Linked DNA regions of Homo sapiens: all the other regions are linked to region 3. The links are contacts of gene promoters, found by promoter capture Hi-C in blood cells and fetal thymus (Javierre and others, 2016). All regions are on one chromosome and are shown on one strand. Each heading gives the region's core, a stretch centred on a gene start or on the middle of the fragment in contact. The rest is flanking DNA. Distances are from core to core; before and after follow the strand shown. Region 1 overlaps CRYZ (crystallin zeta). Region 2 overlaps DNAJC6 (DnaJ heat shock protein family (Hsp40) member C6). Region 3 holds the start of SRSF11 (serine and arginine rich splicing factor 11). Region 4 overlaps TYW3 (tRNA-yW synthesizing protein 3 homolog). Region 5 overlaps MIER1 (MIER1 transcriptional regulator).

What was found. The method cuts DNA at HindIII sites, captures the fragments that hold promoters and counts their contacts. A CHiCAGO score of 5 or more calls a contact.
Region 1: a contact is called between a fragment that was not itself captured here and the fragment with the promoter of SRSF11 in region 3, in 1 of 17 cell types (non-activated CD4 T cells). The highest score is 5.8, in non-activated CD4 T cells.
Region 2: a contact is called between a fragment that was not itself captured here and the fragment with the promoter of SRSF11 in region 3, in 1 of 17 cell types (non-activated CD4 T cells). The highest score is 5.3, in non-activated CD4 T cells.
Region 4: a contact is called between a fragment that was not itself captured here and the fragment with the promoter of SRSF11 in region 3, in 2 of 17 cell types (total B cells and total CD8 T cells). The highest score is 5.3, in total B cells.
Region 5: a fragment that was not itself captured here is called in contact with the fragment with the promoter of SRSF11 in region 3 in 4 of 17 cell types (total B cells, total CD4 T cells, monocytes and 1 more); the score reaches 13.0 in total B cells.

What each region holds. Positions count from the first base shown.
Region 1 is chr1:74,713,106-74,715,805 of GRCh38, reverse strand. CRYZ (crystallin zeta) reads left to right here. Exons shown (of 9, transcript NM_001889.4): 5 at 1,176-1,227. Among named protein-coding and RNA genes, the nearest start is that of CRYZ, 19 kb to the left of the region's middle. The HindIII fragment of the contact is 355 bases long and covers 1,263-1,617 here.
Region 2 is chr1:65,411,851-65,414,550 of GRCh38, reverse strand. It overlaps DNAJC6 (DnaJ heat shock protein family (Hsp40) member C6), which reads right to left. Exons shown (of 19, transcript NM_001256864.2): 19 at 1-1,627. The coding sequence ends at 1,526. Among named protein-coding and RNA genes, the nearest start is that of LEPR, 7.5 kb to the left of the region's middle. RefSeq lists an enhancer at 1,711-2,005. The HindIII fragment of the contact is 2,363 bases long and covers 89-2,451 here.
Region 3 is chr1:70,220,070-70,222,793 of GRCh38, reverse strand. It overlaps SRSF11 (serine and arginine rich splicing factor 11), which reads right to left and starts at 1,414. Exons shown (of 12, transcript NM_001350605.2): 1 at 955-1,414. The coding sequence starts at 1,157. RefSeq lists a silencer at 1,030-1,079 and an enhancer at 975-1,520. The HindIII fragment of the contact is 2,724 bases long and covers 1-2,368 here.
Region 4 is chr1:74,737,558-74,740,363 of GRCh38, reverse strand. TYW3 (tRNA-yW synthesizing protein 3 homolog) reads right to left here. Exons shown (of 6, transcript NM_138467.3): 3 at 1,576-1,674. Among named protein-coding and RNA genes, the nearest start is that of TYW3, 5.8 kb to the right of the region's middle. The HindIII fragment of the contact is 226 bases long and covers 1,292-1,517 here.
Region 5 is chr1:66,927,141-66,929,979 of GRCh38, reverse strand. The region is part of intron 2 of MIER1 (MIER1 transcriptional regulator); the gene reads right to left. Among named protein-coding and RNA genes, the nearest start is that of MIER1, 3.6 kb to the right of the region's middle. RefSeq lists a silencer at 1-27. The HindIII fragment of the contact is 5,334 bases long and covers 1-2,839 here.

The DNA.
Region 1 (2,700 bases), core at 191-2,690, 4.5 Mb before region 3:
CAGGAGGGGATTTGCCTGCTTTTTCTCCCCTCACCCCAGGCCCCAGGGATTTATGAGAATGTGTCTTTAGTGTTTGAGGGGCATCTTATAAGAATTTTTGAAAAATTTCTTTGGGAGGTATTTCATATCCCATAGTTTAACACTAGTCATCCTATCCCCTTATGTTTATGTTTTACTTTAACATATTGTCCTCAGTCCCTTCAGCTCTAAGCAAGAGTGTGGGAGAAAGCTTCACTTATTGCTCATTGTTGCCACTTCTCAGCTGTTGGTGCATAGCTGGGAGCAGGACTCTGGTTACTGTTCTCTTTCCCAGGTGGAGCATAATGTTCTATAATGTCTCTGCAGTGTGGCCACCCCACATTGTTTGAGGAAGTAAGAGAGCCTTCCTGAGAGTCAGATCTGGATCTCACAGCATCTGCTGGCTTTTGACATTGGCACCGTCCATCTGGAATAGTGAGGCATCCCCTCATGCCTTGCTGCATGTCCCTTCTTTTCAGTACATACTAGAAAAGTAGTCATGTGAACTGGAAGTAAAAAGAAAATGCCATTTCACCAGAGAATCTGGACATTTCAGGGGGATGACATGGGAATCTTTGTGATAGAATTTATTGCATTTCCTACTCTCTGACCTTTGCTAACTCAGCATTCCTCCCTGAAAGAGTACAAGGCTGGTGCAACCTGATGTTCAGAGACATGGAGAAGAAAAATTTCTTTCTTTCCTTGGGCAAAAAAAATAGCTACTGTGTTTACTTGGACATTACTCTAGACCACAGAATAAAGACTGAGCTATATAATAAACCTGCTTTGAGGCCCTTTCTGTGGGGGATATATGGGAATGAGAGATTCCAGATCCTCCAGGCTCAGCAATTTTACTTCACAACCCACAAGGACTGTAGCCACTCAGAAGTAGCACCACATAGTCATCCCAGTGTCCAGCAGCATAGTGCCTGGAACATAAAGACTCCCAATAAATATTTGTTCAAGGAATAAATGAATTGAAGGCTTTGTTTATTCTGTGGAGCTTAGGGAATATTTGGGGCTGTATGTCAGGTTGCATTTGCTGTTTGTGTAAGTGTTAGCCAGACTAGGGGTAGAAATTCCTTAAGATGATGAAAACACCCGAGATTAATTAGCTTCAAAAAATAAGGTGATGTAACTTATGCTTTCCTTTGCAGTGCCTGTGTGAAAGCTGGAGAGAGTGTTCTGGTTCATGGGGCAAGTGGAGGAGTAAGTATTTTTTTTAATGTATTTTGAAACAAGCTTGGGTTTATGGGTTTCACATTATAGTTCCTTTGGTCATTTTTAAAAGTCAGATTTATAAATAGAGTCAAAGGTGCTTTTTTTCTTTATGTAGTAAAACTTTTGATTTTGGTCTTCTGAAGGTGATGTTTTGTCATTAGTTTAGCATTTCTTGGTTAATAAACTCAACAGAGCACCCCTTCAAAAATATGTTAGATTTTCCACCTGTATTGGGTGTAGACTAAGATAAACTGGCCTTGTTTTTGCCTTCAAGTAGCATATGTTATAAAAATATTTATTTAGAATTTTAAACAGTTCTTTAAGGTTGATATTAATTCCATATTCCCTTAGATAAGGAAACTAAGGCTCATTAAAGCTTACCTATGTTGCCCCAGACAGCACGGTAAAGCCACACTGTGAATTCTTAGTCCTTCTATCTCCCTTCTGCTGCTTGCCTGCTGCACTTTGATGACATCCATGGAGTGCACGTATACAGCCCTGTCCTTAACACCACAACCCATGGCTGAAAATGCTAATGTGGGGGAATGGGGGAGGAGGACTCAGAACTTAAAATAAGCCCTTCAATGAAATCACCCAATGCAGGGCTGTCAGAAACCTCTTCGAGAAACTAGCTGCCAATCTGCCTCTCAGGAGCTTAGAGGGAAAAGTTAGAGCTCTGCAGTTAGAATTTAACAAGAAATCCACATGAACTCTGTCACTGGATGCTTTGGAAATTTTGGAGATAAGATTTTGCATTTTAAAAATAAAAGGCCTGGGGCTAGATGCTTACTTTGAGGAGGCTGTTAACCATTTCAGAGCACTGTGTATTCTGGAGAGTGGATTGAAAGAAGTAACCTATTAAATGGCACATAGTCCCCTGAATAATGAGTGGTATCCTGAAAATGTGAATTTACCTTTAAAAGTGCCCAGGTAATTTCAGTCCTTTTTGTCTCTCTGTTTCTTTAGGTAGATGAATCACGAGGTTTCACACCTAGCTTCCTACACTTCAAATAGATCAATTCTAAAGGATTTCACAGATCAAACAATTTATGAAAAAACACTAGGATTGTCTTTATGGGGCTTGAGACAATATGACAGATATACCTTGTCCAAAACTCCCACTGTTTAACTTCACTGAAGAGGCTATTTTTGGGTTAAATTAAATTTAACCCTAAGTAACTAAAGGGTCTGTCAAACACATACATTTATTTAAATTACCCTGGCTTTCAGAGAGCTAACTTAGTGCTCTGTGCAGAAGGGAAAGATTTCAGTAGGAAGGGGAGAGAAGAGTTTAAAGAAAATCTCTTTATATTCCCTTTACCCTCTTGTAAAAAGCCCAGTTGCTTCACCATGATTTTTTTTTAAGGTAAAATCCACACTGTTCTCTGAGCTGGCTGAGTTTGTTAAATCCTCAGCTGGCAGGGATAGGCTGGTGACCTGGTGTGTGAAGTGCTTCTGATC
Region 2 (2,700 bases), core at 21-2,520, 4.8 Mb after region 3:
ACATGCCGCTTTTCCGGTATAGCTTGCCACAAGAAAGTTAAAACAAAAACAAAAAATGATTGTCTTTTCAAAACAACTTTTAAAAGCTTTTCACAATATTGAGCATGAACCTTTGAAGATTAGCATGAAAATCTTTTTGCCCATCTGCTTTGTGGATATATTTAATATATATGTATAATGCACATTGTATATGTGCACACAAAAGAGATCTACTAAAGTCACAGAATAGCAAACTGCTTACCCCTTAAAATGAGAACCAGCCAACACACTGATCTGAATCCAGCCAGTCTGAGATCGGGAAAGCATTCATTCTTGCTTTGCTTTCACAAATGTCCCTGTATGAATGTCGTTCCTGTGGATCCCCAACCACTTTTAAAACAAAAAAGCCCACTGTAATAATTTAATGGGTCTAGATTTGCCTTGTGGGGAGGTGGGACCTGGTTCCTCAGAGCAGATACTGACAAGCCATCTGACTGGGTCTGCAGGTGAGTGCAGCTCTCTCACTGTGATCGTGCCATTCCCTTAACTCCTATTCAGTGTTGCCTTCCATTCTCTTACCACAACTGCTCACAAACCTAGAGAACACTGAGTCCACACTAGATATTGGTCCTGATAAGTTGTGAACAGGCCAAACTACTTTACCACCTGTTTCCAACTAAGAATGTTTTCTTGGCTAAACAAAAGAAGAGCATTAAGCCTTACAGCAAAATTAGATGTTTCATTTAAACCAGGTTTAGAGTTGTTATAGTAGTAAGACTTTTTATTTAATTAATCACAGTTTTCTAAAGGGAAAGAAGGGTAGCGGCCCACCTTCCTAACCAGGAATAAAGATTTCGACATCTTCAGAGTCCCTATTTTCTTTAGCCACCATTTTCATTCATTTTTAGCTTAGTCAGAAAGTTGGTGGTAATCACTGGACTGTAGTTTAATCACTGGACTATTATCACTCCCCACATTTCAAGTTCCTTTATATTTGTTAGTTCTCTTGACCAAAAGACATTTACAGTATTATGCTAAAGGCCTTAGTAAATTTTTACTTAAAAAAAAATACCTGGTGGTTTTGTTCTTGGAGTCTGCATAAAGCCACTGCTCAAATTATATCTTTCCAAGAAAAATCTAGAAACCATTAAACCATCATATAACTCTATTATCATAACTTTTGCTCATTAATCCTATTCTCAGACAATGTGATGGGTGTTATGCCTTCATGGGTGGTGGCCTCTGTTTTCCATTTCCCCAGGTAGAATGCTGAGTAGGCTCCCCAAAGGGCAGGGTGGAATGCGGTGGTTCTGCAAGGTCATCTGACTAGAAGTTCCTCTCATGCTTTGGATCTTTTATGGTGGGAACTTTGGAGAAACCAAACATCCACATTCCTTATCAATGAGAAATTAATTCATGAGTAACTTAACGGTTTAGTACTGAAAACATGTTACTGGAGTTTTTGGTTCATCTGCGAAAACCTCAGAATTGTGACACACACTAAGCATTAGCACAGGTCTGCAGCAGAGATGGAAAAGCTCATAAATTAATATAAGGGCTTTTGGCCTTGGTTTTCAAATTCAGACCAGGCATCATTGAGCTCCATGAAAATCATCTTTGCGTATTGTTCATAGGGTTGCCCAGTAGCCTGTAGAGAAAACAAAAACACACATTAGATACCACAGACCAAAATTTCATTAATATTAAATTTTTCACTGCCAATATATGGGCTCTAAGCAATGGAAATGTTTTTCTATTTGGCCATTTCTCCTTTTCAGCCTAATCTACTATATCTGACCCAAATTACTATAACCTCCCCATAATGACCTCCCCCTAGAAATGCACAAGGGTAGTAGTAATCCATCAAGAAGTAGACAACAGAGAGCTTATCAGGCAGCACAAGACGTATCTCTGTTCTCCAGACGTATCTGCCAAATGACAAAGGTTCATGACAGCCCATCTCTATTGACTGTTTTTAACTCCCATTTTCCCATTTCTAAAAAGTTCTTTGAGAGTCATAATGGGGAATACAGTTTGTGGATTTTTCTGGGCTCTTGTTTCTCCTTCTCTTTTGATTCATCAAAATTCAAGCACTACCATTGCTTCTCATTAATTCTTCTTTTCAGACTAGTACAAAAAAATGTGGAGAGATGAAAATCATATGCATCAAATTCAAGCCTGTGTTCCCAAGTGGCACTTCGATCATAGCTTCATGTCATATGACTGGTATAGTCTATGTGACAGCAAGATGACTCACTTCTTGCTGAATGTTTCTATGTATTATATGATGATTTCATTTGTCCATGAGTTACTTGAAGTTTCTGACAAGGTAGAGCCCTTAGATGTATATATACTTCAATGAAAACATAAACTGACATAATCAATGTAGTAATAATCAAGAGAGGGCAAATTTAATTCCATTCTGAATATTTTATTGATTCTCACAAATTTTACCAACTACATTCTGAAGCTTTTTCATTACCATCCTAGCTAACTATACTGCTGTATCTCTAAAGGAAAGGAGTTTTCTTCTGTCCAGCTCTTAGCCTGTCCTTACTATTGTAAGCCAGGACACAATTTACTTTTTCTTTTCTTTTTTTGGAGACAGGGTCTCACTCTGTTGCCCAGGCTGGAGTACAGTGGAGCGATCTCAGCTCACTGCAGCCTTGATCACCCAGGCTCAAGTGATCCTCCTACCTCAACCTCCCGAGTGGCTAAGAC
Region 3 (2,724 bases), core at 165-2,664:
CAGTAGATTCTTAGAGGATTCCAATTTCCTGTTTAGTATTTAAGTGACATCATAAAATTCTCAATATATGATATTTACTGATAATGACATTTGAATTGTCACTTCTCCACCAATAAGTCTTCCAAAAAGCACAAGACTATTATTATTATTCCAATTGTCTGTTTTAGTAGTACACTTTATCTTACTTCTTAGCTTCTTTGAACTATTTTTTCTTTACAATTCATCCACTTAATATTCTTGCGATAGAAATAATTTTCAAAATAAAAGTGAGACAAAAAGGATAAAAAGTCATACACTCTAATTCAAATTTCAACATTTATAAAAATCCTTCTCAAGAACAACTGTGAAATATCACAAATCTGTATATTATTCAAACAAAGGAAAATCTCTGGTTTATAACCCGTTTTTTGACATTATACAAATTAAGTAATCAGGCTCACACTAAACTAAGCGTCTGTCAAAAAGAATATGATCTTTGAATTATATTGCTGGGCCAGAACCACATAACAGCAATAACAATAAGTGAACAACCTACAAAGTTTAACACCAAATTAACACAGGCATGAATAATTTTGTTACCTTTCTTCCAAGAACGCAAAGAACAAATACTCAGTTTTTTAAAAAAGGGATTTAACCTATATACGACGTACAGACTGCGGTTAGTCTTGCGTTAAGTCCCCAAAGCCAAACGACCACGTTGGCACAATTTAAGGCGGAAAAAAAAAATTTCCCGAGAATAACAGCCAGTGTTTCCTAATTCCAAAAAGCCCTGGCCCTGCCTCTCTGCATTTTTTTGTAGGCCTGGAACACAACCGTCTTAAGTAAATCCACCAGCCACCAGCCACTCAAGCAGCCTGGCCCGGGGAAGCAGCGACAGGGGCCTAAGGAAATTGTGTGTGTTAGGCCCAGGCTGAGGCGGCGTTAGCAGGAACAGTGATGGTGGACGATACTCACTCCGGCGGGAAGAGGCGCAGTTCGTCGATCTTGCCTAGGAAACCGAAGAGAGTCCGCATCTGCTCAGAGCTAGCGCTCGGGGAGACATTAGTCACCTGGATTACCTCGGTGCCGCCGCCTCCGCCGCCACCACCACCTCCGCCACCGGGCCCGCCGCTGGGGCCCGGACCTGCAGTGCTGGGGACGACGGTAGTGTTGCTCATGGCGCTGCTCGGGTTCTCGCTCCTGCTTTAACACATCAAACACACAACAAACAGTGAGAAGGAGGGGGAAGAGGAACCGGATTGCGGGAGAGAGGAGGGTGTCCGATGCTACAGCCTCTGCTACTGCTGCCGATGCCGCCGCCGCCGCCGCCGTTTCTCCGCCCCGCCGCACGCCGCGGGGGAGGGGATGAGAGCGCGCGAGCTCGAGACCACGAGAAAACAAACGGCCGCCCCACCTCGCCTCCAACCACGACACTAGCGGGCCCGAGCTCCCACAATGCTTTGCGGCGCAGGGCGCGTCAGCGTCGGCTCCACCCCGCGCAGGCCCAGCAGCCGTCGCCTGCAGCCCGAGAAATGAGAGGCACCGGGGTCTAGAGAAAGGTGTTATCCACCTTCGTCTCTCGTTTTATTCTTCTTTTTCTTCTCTCTTTTTTTTTTGGAAGAGCGAAGAGGCACGTATAAACTTTTTTTTTAAAAAAAGCATTCATCCTCCTGCAAAAGTCACTTCAGCAACTCTTCTTATTAAATACTGCTCACGATGTCTTTATATACTGATAATCATCTACAGAGCTATCCGATTACTAATGATATTTAAACCCAAGCTAAGATGCCACCCCACCACCACCAGTATAAAATGTCCCGAAATTTTCAATGTACATGAATTTTGGTAACATTAAATCTGTAACTAATTTGTTTTGTCACTAAAACTTTCAGAAAAGATATATTTTAATATTACACTTATTAATAAGCGTTTTGTACATTCATTCACAATGGATGACTTTTTTTTTTGAGACAGAGTCGCCCTGTCGCCCAGGCTGGAGTGCAGTGGCACCATCTTGGCTCGCTGCAACCTCCACTTCCCCTGTTCAAGCCATTCTCCTACCTAGGCCTCGGGAGTAGCTGGGATTACAGGCGCCTGCCACGACGCCAGGCTAAGTTTTGTATTTTTAGTAGACATGGGGTTTCACCATGTTGGCCAGGCTGGTCTCCAACTCCTGACCTCTGGTGATCCACCCGCCTTGGCCTCCCAAAGTTCTGGGATTACAGGCGCGTGAGCCACTGCACCCAGCCAATTCCACAATAGCTGACTTTGGAAACACAGTTTATAGTACTTAAATATATTCAAGTATATATTTCTAAAGAAAATACTGCAATTTCTCAAGAAAAACTTGTTTCACATACATATTCTTGCTTAAAATAATTTTGAAGCTTTTGACTATTAAAAAAATCCTTGCTTTTGTTTTCAACCTCATCTGAACTATTCTCTCAACTGCATCCAGTGTGTAGTCCAGTGACTTGTAGTGCCCCAAACATGACAAAAACCATAATGTCTCTGTGCCGATACACAAGTTATTAATAACATCACTCATCTTATCTGTCATCTTCTGTAGAGCATTCCTTCCCTCACTGCTATGACTTCTGCAAGCTGTTAGGGCTTCCTCTTTTCTGCTAAGTAACAGAAGATACATGTATTTATTATTGACATGTATCACTCAAAGTTGTGAGCTTCCTGGGTCAGTCCAGAACCTGGCACAATGTCTGTCACACAGTCAGTCCCAATGAATGT
Region 4 (2,806 bases), core at 155-2,654, 4.5 Mb before region 3:
TTATGAGCTGTTAACACTCACTGTGGAAGTCTGCGGCTTCATTTCTGAAATCAGCAAGACCACGAACCCACTGGGAGGAACAAACAACTCTGGACATGCCACCTTTAAGAGCTGTAACACTCACTGCGAAGGTCTGCAGCTTCACTCCTGAAGTCAGCAAGACCACGAACCCACTGGAAGGAAGAAACTCCGGACACATCTGAACATCTGAAGGAACAAACTCCGGACATACCATCTTTAAGAACTGTCACACTCACTGCGAGGGTCCACGGCTTCATTCTTGAAGTCAGCGAGACCAATAACCCACTGGAAGGAACCAATTCTGGACACACTTCAACTTCAGCACACCCCATCTGGATAAAGGCGACTACCATACAGCTAGGGGCTCCAGCCAGACCTAAGTAGTTATCCTTGATTCCTCTTTCTCCTCCTCCCTCTGGCTGTCCTTCCCCAGACAACCTTACAATTCTGTTGATTCAAATGCTGAAATACATATTGAATCTATTCCTTTCTCACCTGCTTTGGTGCTATCACCTTACACCAACCTATCACCACAAACTACTCCTAACTCGTATCTTTTCACTTACTGCACTCCTTTCTCTATGCTGAAGCAGAACTGAGTTTTTCAGAACAAAAACCTAGAAAGCCACTCTTTGCTTAAAACTGTCCCTTCAATAACTTTTCCCTGAACTCAGAAAGAAATTCAAACTCTTTAATCTGGTCTACAAAGCCTTAAATGACCTGGCCCCAGCCTCCTTCTGGCACCTTCTTTCCACTCTCTAGACCCACTGAAACTTTGTATATACTTTTCCATCTTCATGGAATGTTCATTTCCCAGCTACATGCCTAGCTCTTTCTGTTCCTTTAAGTCTTAGCTTAAAGAAAGCTTTTCAGAGAAGCCTATCTTCAAGTGAGCTGCTTTTTGCACTGTTCTCTATTACCAGGTTGTTTTTTCCTTCGGTAGAACATTTTGCAACTTGCAGTTTGTTTTTTGTTTTTTTGCCAGTTCACTTGTTTGTTTTTGCTGTCTCCTAACTTTGGAAGAGGAACCAAGACAGTCTTTAATCTTGTTCATCACTGTGCCCCTAGTACTTGACACACTGAGACTCAATACATTATTGTTGCTTAAAATGCAATTCAGTTTTATATATAAATATATAAAAGGTATAAAAAGGAGAATCAAGACTAAACAGATGTTTACCTCATGCATGCTCATTTAAATGGGAAAAATGAAATATTCTTTAAAACTCTTAATTTTACATGTAGTTCCACAGTATTTTTTCTTAAAGCTTGGCAAACAAAAACAAACTATAGAATGCTGAAGTAAAATTTATAAATAAAAACGTTAAGAAAGAAAACAGGAAGCATAACCTGGGACTTATATTTTCCTAGCAATGATTAGCTACTCTTTTTTTCTAATATTAAAAATTAATAGATTGAGCAGACCAATAAATAATATATACATAACTAGTTGAATAAGGTAATATCTCATTGATATTTATAGCAGGTTAAAAGCTTAAAATTACATCTACCCACATATCTATAAATTCAAGTACAATTACAACAAAATTTTACCAGAATCTGTGCATCCTGCAATTGTCGACACTGCACATGAAGAACAAATGGTTCAAATTTCAAAGTGGCATCACCATTTGCTTTCTTCAGAGCTACAATCTAAATAAATGAACAGTGGTATCAGATGCAAGTATATGGCCTGTCCTTTGGCGACCCTTTACCCCATACATAACTTCAATTTCTCTTAGAAATTTTCAGAATCACTCAGCATATTTTTTCTGCAGTAACTTTTCCCTCTGCTTTCTTGGTCCTTTTTCACCAAAAATTTATTTGCTTATTTTCTTAAAATTTCTAGTTCTCCCGTAAATCTTCTATACCATTCTTTCCACCTATTAGTGTGCTTTGAAGAAGTAAACTACTACTTTATTTAATTCCATAACGGATTTTTCATTAGGAAATGTAGTATACAAAAACTGTATTAGGATTGTTTAAATTTTTTGTTAGATTGAGATAGAGACAAATGTAATGTGAGAGAAGGGTCCAAACAAAGCCTAACTGCCACCCATGTTCCCAAGAAGCATCCTGTACCAAGCACCAGTGCTTACCAGCAGCACTAGTAAGCTCACAAATAGCAGTGCATGCAAAGAGCTCAGAGCACAGCCAGTGAGTTCCTGTTCCCTCTGTAACAGGCACAGTTGTTGTAACAATTGCAACTTGCAGTTTTTTTGTTTGTTTTTTTTTCCCTGTTCACTTGTTTGTTTTTGCTATCTCCTAACTTTGGGAGAGGAACCTTGGAACTGCTCAGCTACATGAGAACCAATGGCCCCTGAGCACGTTCCTAGCTTTCTGTATTTCAGACCCTATGGGGCAGTGTTCAGGGTCTGGGAGCTACTGCAGCACAAAGTGGGGTACATGCCATCACTCTGCCCTGATCAGCTGTGGAACCAATCTGCTAGCCATGGGGACTGACACATTGCAAAGGGCTAGATCTTGTGTAGTCTCTTCCCTCCTGCTATAAGCAAATGTTACAACACTTGAGCCTAGTATGCGTGTTTTTTGTTAGTGACCTTGAGTCAGGTACTAGTCTCTTCCCTAGGTAGCACTTGCCTGCCTTTTAACCTTGGCTGCACCCATGTTACAGTGTATCCTGCGGCGTAGTCTGACCACCTAGTGAAACATGTAATATTGTGTCTGAGCTAGAATTTATACAAGACAGTTATTATTTCTGTCTGCCCAGCATCCCCGGGCAACATCGTCCTGCCTTCACACCATTTGATTTCTGGTGGGGCTG
Region 5 (2,839 bases), core at 265-2,764, 3.3 Mb after region 3:
GTGCCAAAGGAGTCACATCCAGCATTGACACAGCAGAGGAAAAATACGTAATATTTTACATGTAGGTCGTTTTTGAAATGCATTTGCTGAAAAACGGATGTTGCTGTGATGCAACGGCGGCAAGAACTGTGCTTTGAAAGCGGTTATGCCTTGACAAATATTTCTCCATCAGTAGATTCCCGACAGGAAATGTAAAATTCTATATCCCCAAATCTCTAGAGAGGTCAGAGCAAAAATTAATGGAAGGGGTTATGATAGGCAGTCCGCCATCCTCATGTCATTTGCGTTTTCTCACACACTTCTGTCATGCCGGTAGCAACACAGTTATGTACTGAATTTTGCACAACTAGACAAAATTTAAAATACTGAAAATTGACTGTTTTATGGATATCATCTATTTAGTAGCATGGAGGGAGAACCTACTTATTTGCAATGCCTGAAATGCCTGTAACTTGAAAGTTTATTTTAATGTATTGGCCTACAGCTGCCAATTGGCCGTGATGCCAATGCTGATGATGGCCAGAACCAATGATTTCAAAGTAACTAACATGTTTCACTTCCATTATACTAAGGCACATACTGAATAACACAAAGGTGACATTAAAACAGTCACTAACATATTTTACTAAACCAGTTTGAAAGTCTTTATTTCAAAAGACTGGGATTTTTTTCCTAATCTTCAAGGGTTCCTCTTAATGCAGTTTCAAAAGTGGCTACCAAAATCAACCATTTAAATACGAGAATTATTCATTCCTTCCAAATAATGTGAACCAATACTACATTGCATAAATGTGTACATATACAATTTTTCTTAAAGTTAATACTTAACTTATAATGCAATATAGGGGAGGCTATTAAATTATTTATATTCCCTTAAAATTCTAGACTCTATCAAGCATTTTCCTATTTCCAAAGATTCAATGTTAATTTGAAACTGTTATGTCCAATAATAATCTGTGCATGAATAAACTGCATTTACAGATATATGAAGTAGCTGCTAAGTGAAAGGACATTACCTGGTAATTTGACAGGAAAAGAGTCCACAGACAGTCTGTAAACCAATTAAACATAAACATCTGATGCACATTTTCTACTGAAAGAAAAGCAAGGGAAAGAAGAGAAAGGAAAACTTTAAGGTTCCCAAATCTACAAACAATTTTTACCATTAACTGTACTGTACAGTATTTTCATTTTATTTTTTAGAAAACTTATATAAAAGTGTTTTTCAGGATTCCTTGGGGGAATAAATATTTTAGCAGAGGTATATAGTTTCTAATAGTTACCCTGTTGAATTATGTCAATCCTCTGGACTTGAAATAAAAATGACTTTTTAAAAGTGTCAGTTCATATCCAAATAGTTTTCAATCAATACACTTAATGAAAAGAGCTGAAGGCAAAGAACAATGGATATACATGGACCTGAGGTGGGTACAGACACAATTAGGGGCCTAGAGGTACAAACTCAGGCTTTATACCATGGAGATGAAGGAGGGTTTTCCATTAACATATGAAAGCTAATTTATGAAATTTGGCTACCAAAGGAAAATTAAAAGTGTTACAATACAAGGTACAGAAATAACTTGCTTAAGTACACTGAATCTTTGATTCTTCAGTTAAACTACCAACAGAAATCCCAACTATGATAAAGAGCAGGGGATCATAGTCTATTAACCTACTGAATGAATCCTAAACTTGTCAGGAAAATGGAAGTCTGAAACATTTCTGAATGGGTATCTATCTTACTGTTAAATAACTCTTTAAGTTTATTAATATTGTGTATCAATATTACTAGTTTTAAATGGTATTATTATTATTGAGGGAAAAAAACTCTCTACATTTTTCCCCTTCCCCTTTTTATAAATGTGGATTCAGTGGGTTTTTTAGGTTCAGATATTATAAAAAAGAAACAGCTCTAATACTGCAATTCATAGGTAACACATTACCACTGAATTCAGTATCCTTCCACTATTATTTTATTTTAGTGATACACCTAACTGTAAAATTTTCAGGAGCCACCTTACGGAATGAAAAGTCTTTCTCAAAACGCTTACTTACCCTCTTCAGTATTAAATATATAAAAATTAACTATTCACTAGTTATAGAATTTTAGTGTTGGATGGGACCTTAGAGATCTTTTAGTCAATTCTCTACCCTGTCAAGATAGTAATCTCTCATCATGCTTCTACTACCAGGCTTTCTGCCTATGTTTAAACCCCTCCAGTGACTCACTATATCTCATAAAAAGGCTGCTCTTTTCAAAAAAAGTTCAAATGTTTAAAACATTCTTTCTTTTATTATGCCAGAATCTACCTCCTTGTTGTTTCCATCCATTACCCTTAGTTCTTCAGCACTTTGGATTAATTCAACAGATATCTTCTTTGTATCCAAATGCAAACAGTTAATATTTATACTTGGGTTAACAAAAAAAAATTTATTTTTAAAGCCTATTCATACTAGAAGAGTTGAAAATAGGACATGAGAGAGCTAAAGGCATAAGAAAATGCACCATTAATTGTGTCTGCTTAAAATTATTACACTTTGTTATTTATTAATGTGATATCCAAAACAGTAGTTCTGTTGGAATTGTGTATAAAATTTTTAAACTAAAAAAGTGTGCTGAATTCCAATTTTATGTGAGGTTTGTGATTAATGTCCCAAAACAAAAAACCACTATACAAAGCCTGAATAAATGCCTCTTCAGCTCCTATTCCCCACCTAAAAGCCTCCTTATTTTCAGGCAAAGTAACATTAATTTTTATGACATTAAGCTACTCAAAACTGCTATTATATTGATAAATCATTTGTAAGCAATTTACTGAATCTTCCATTCAAAAGTTAT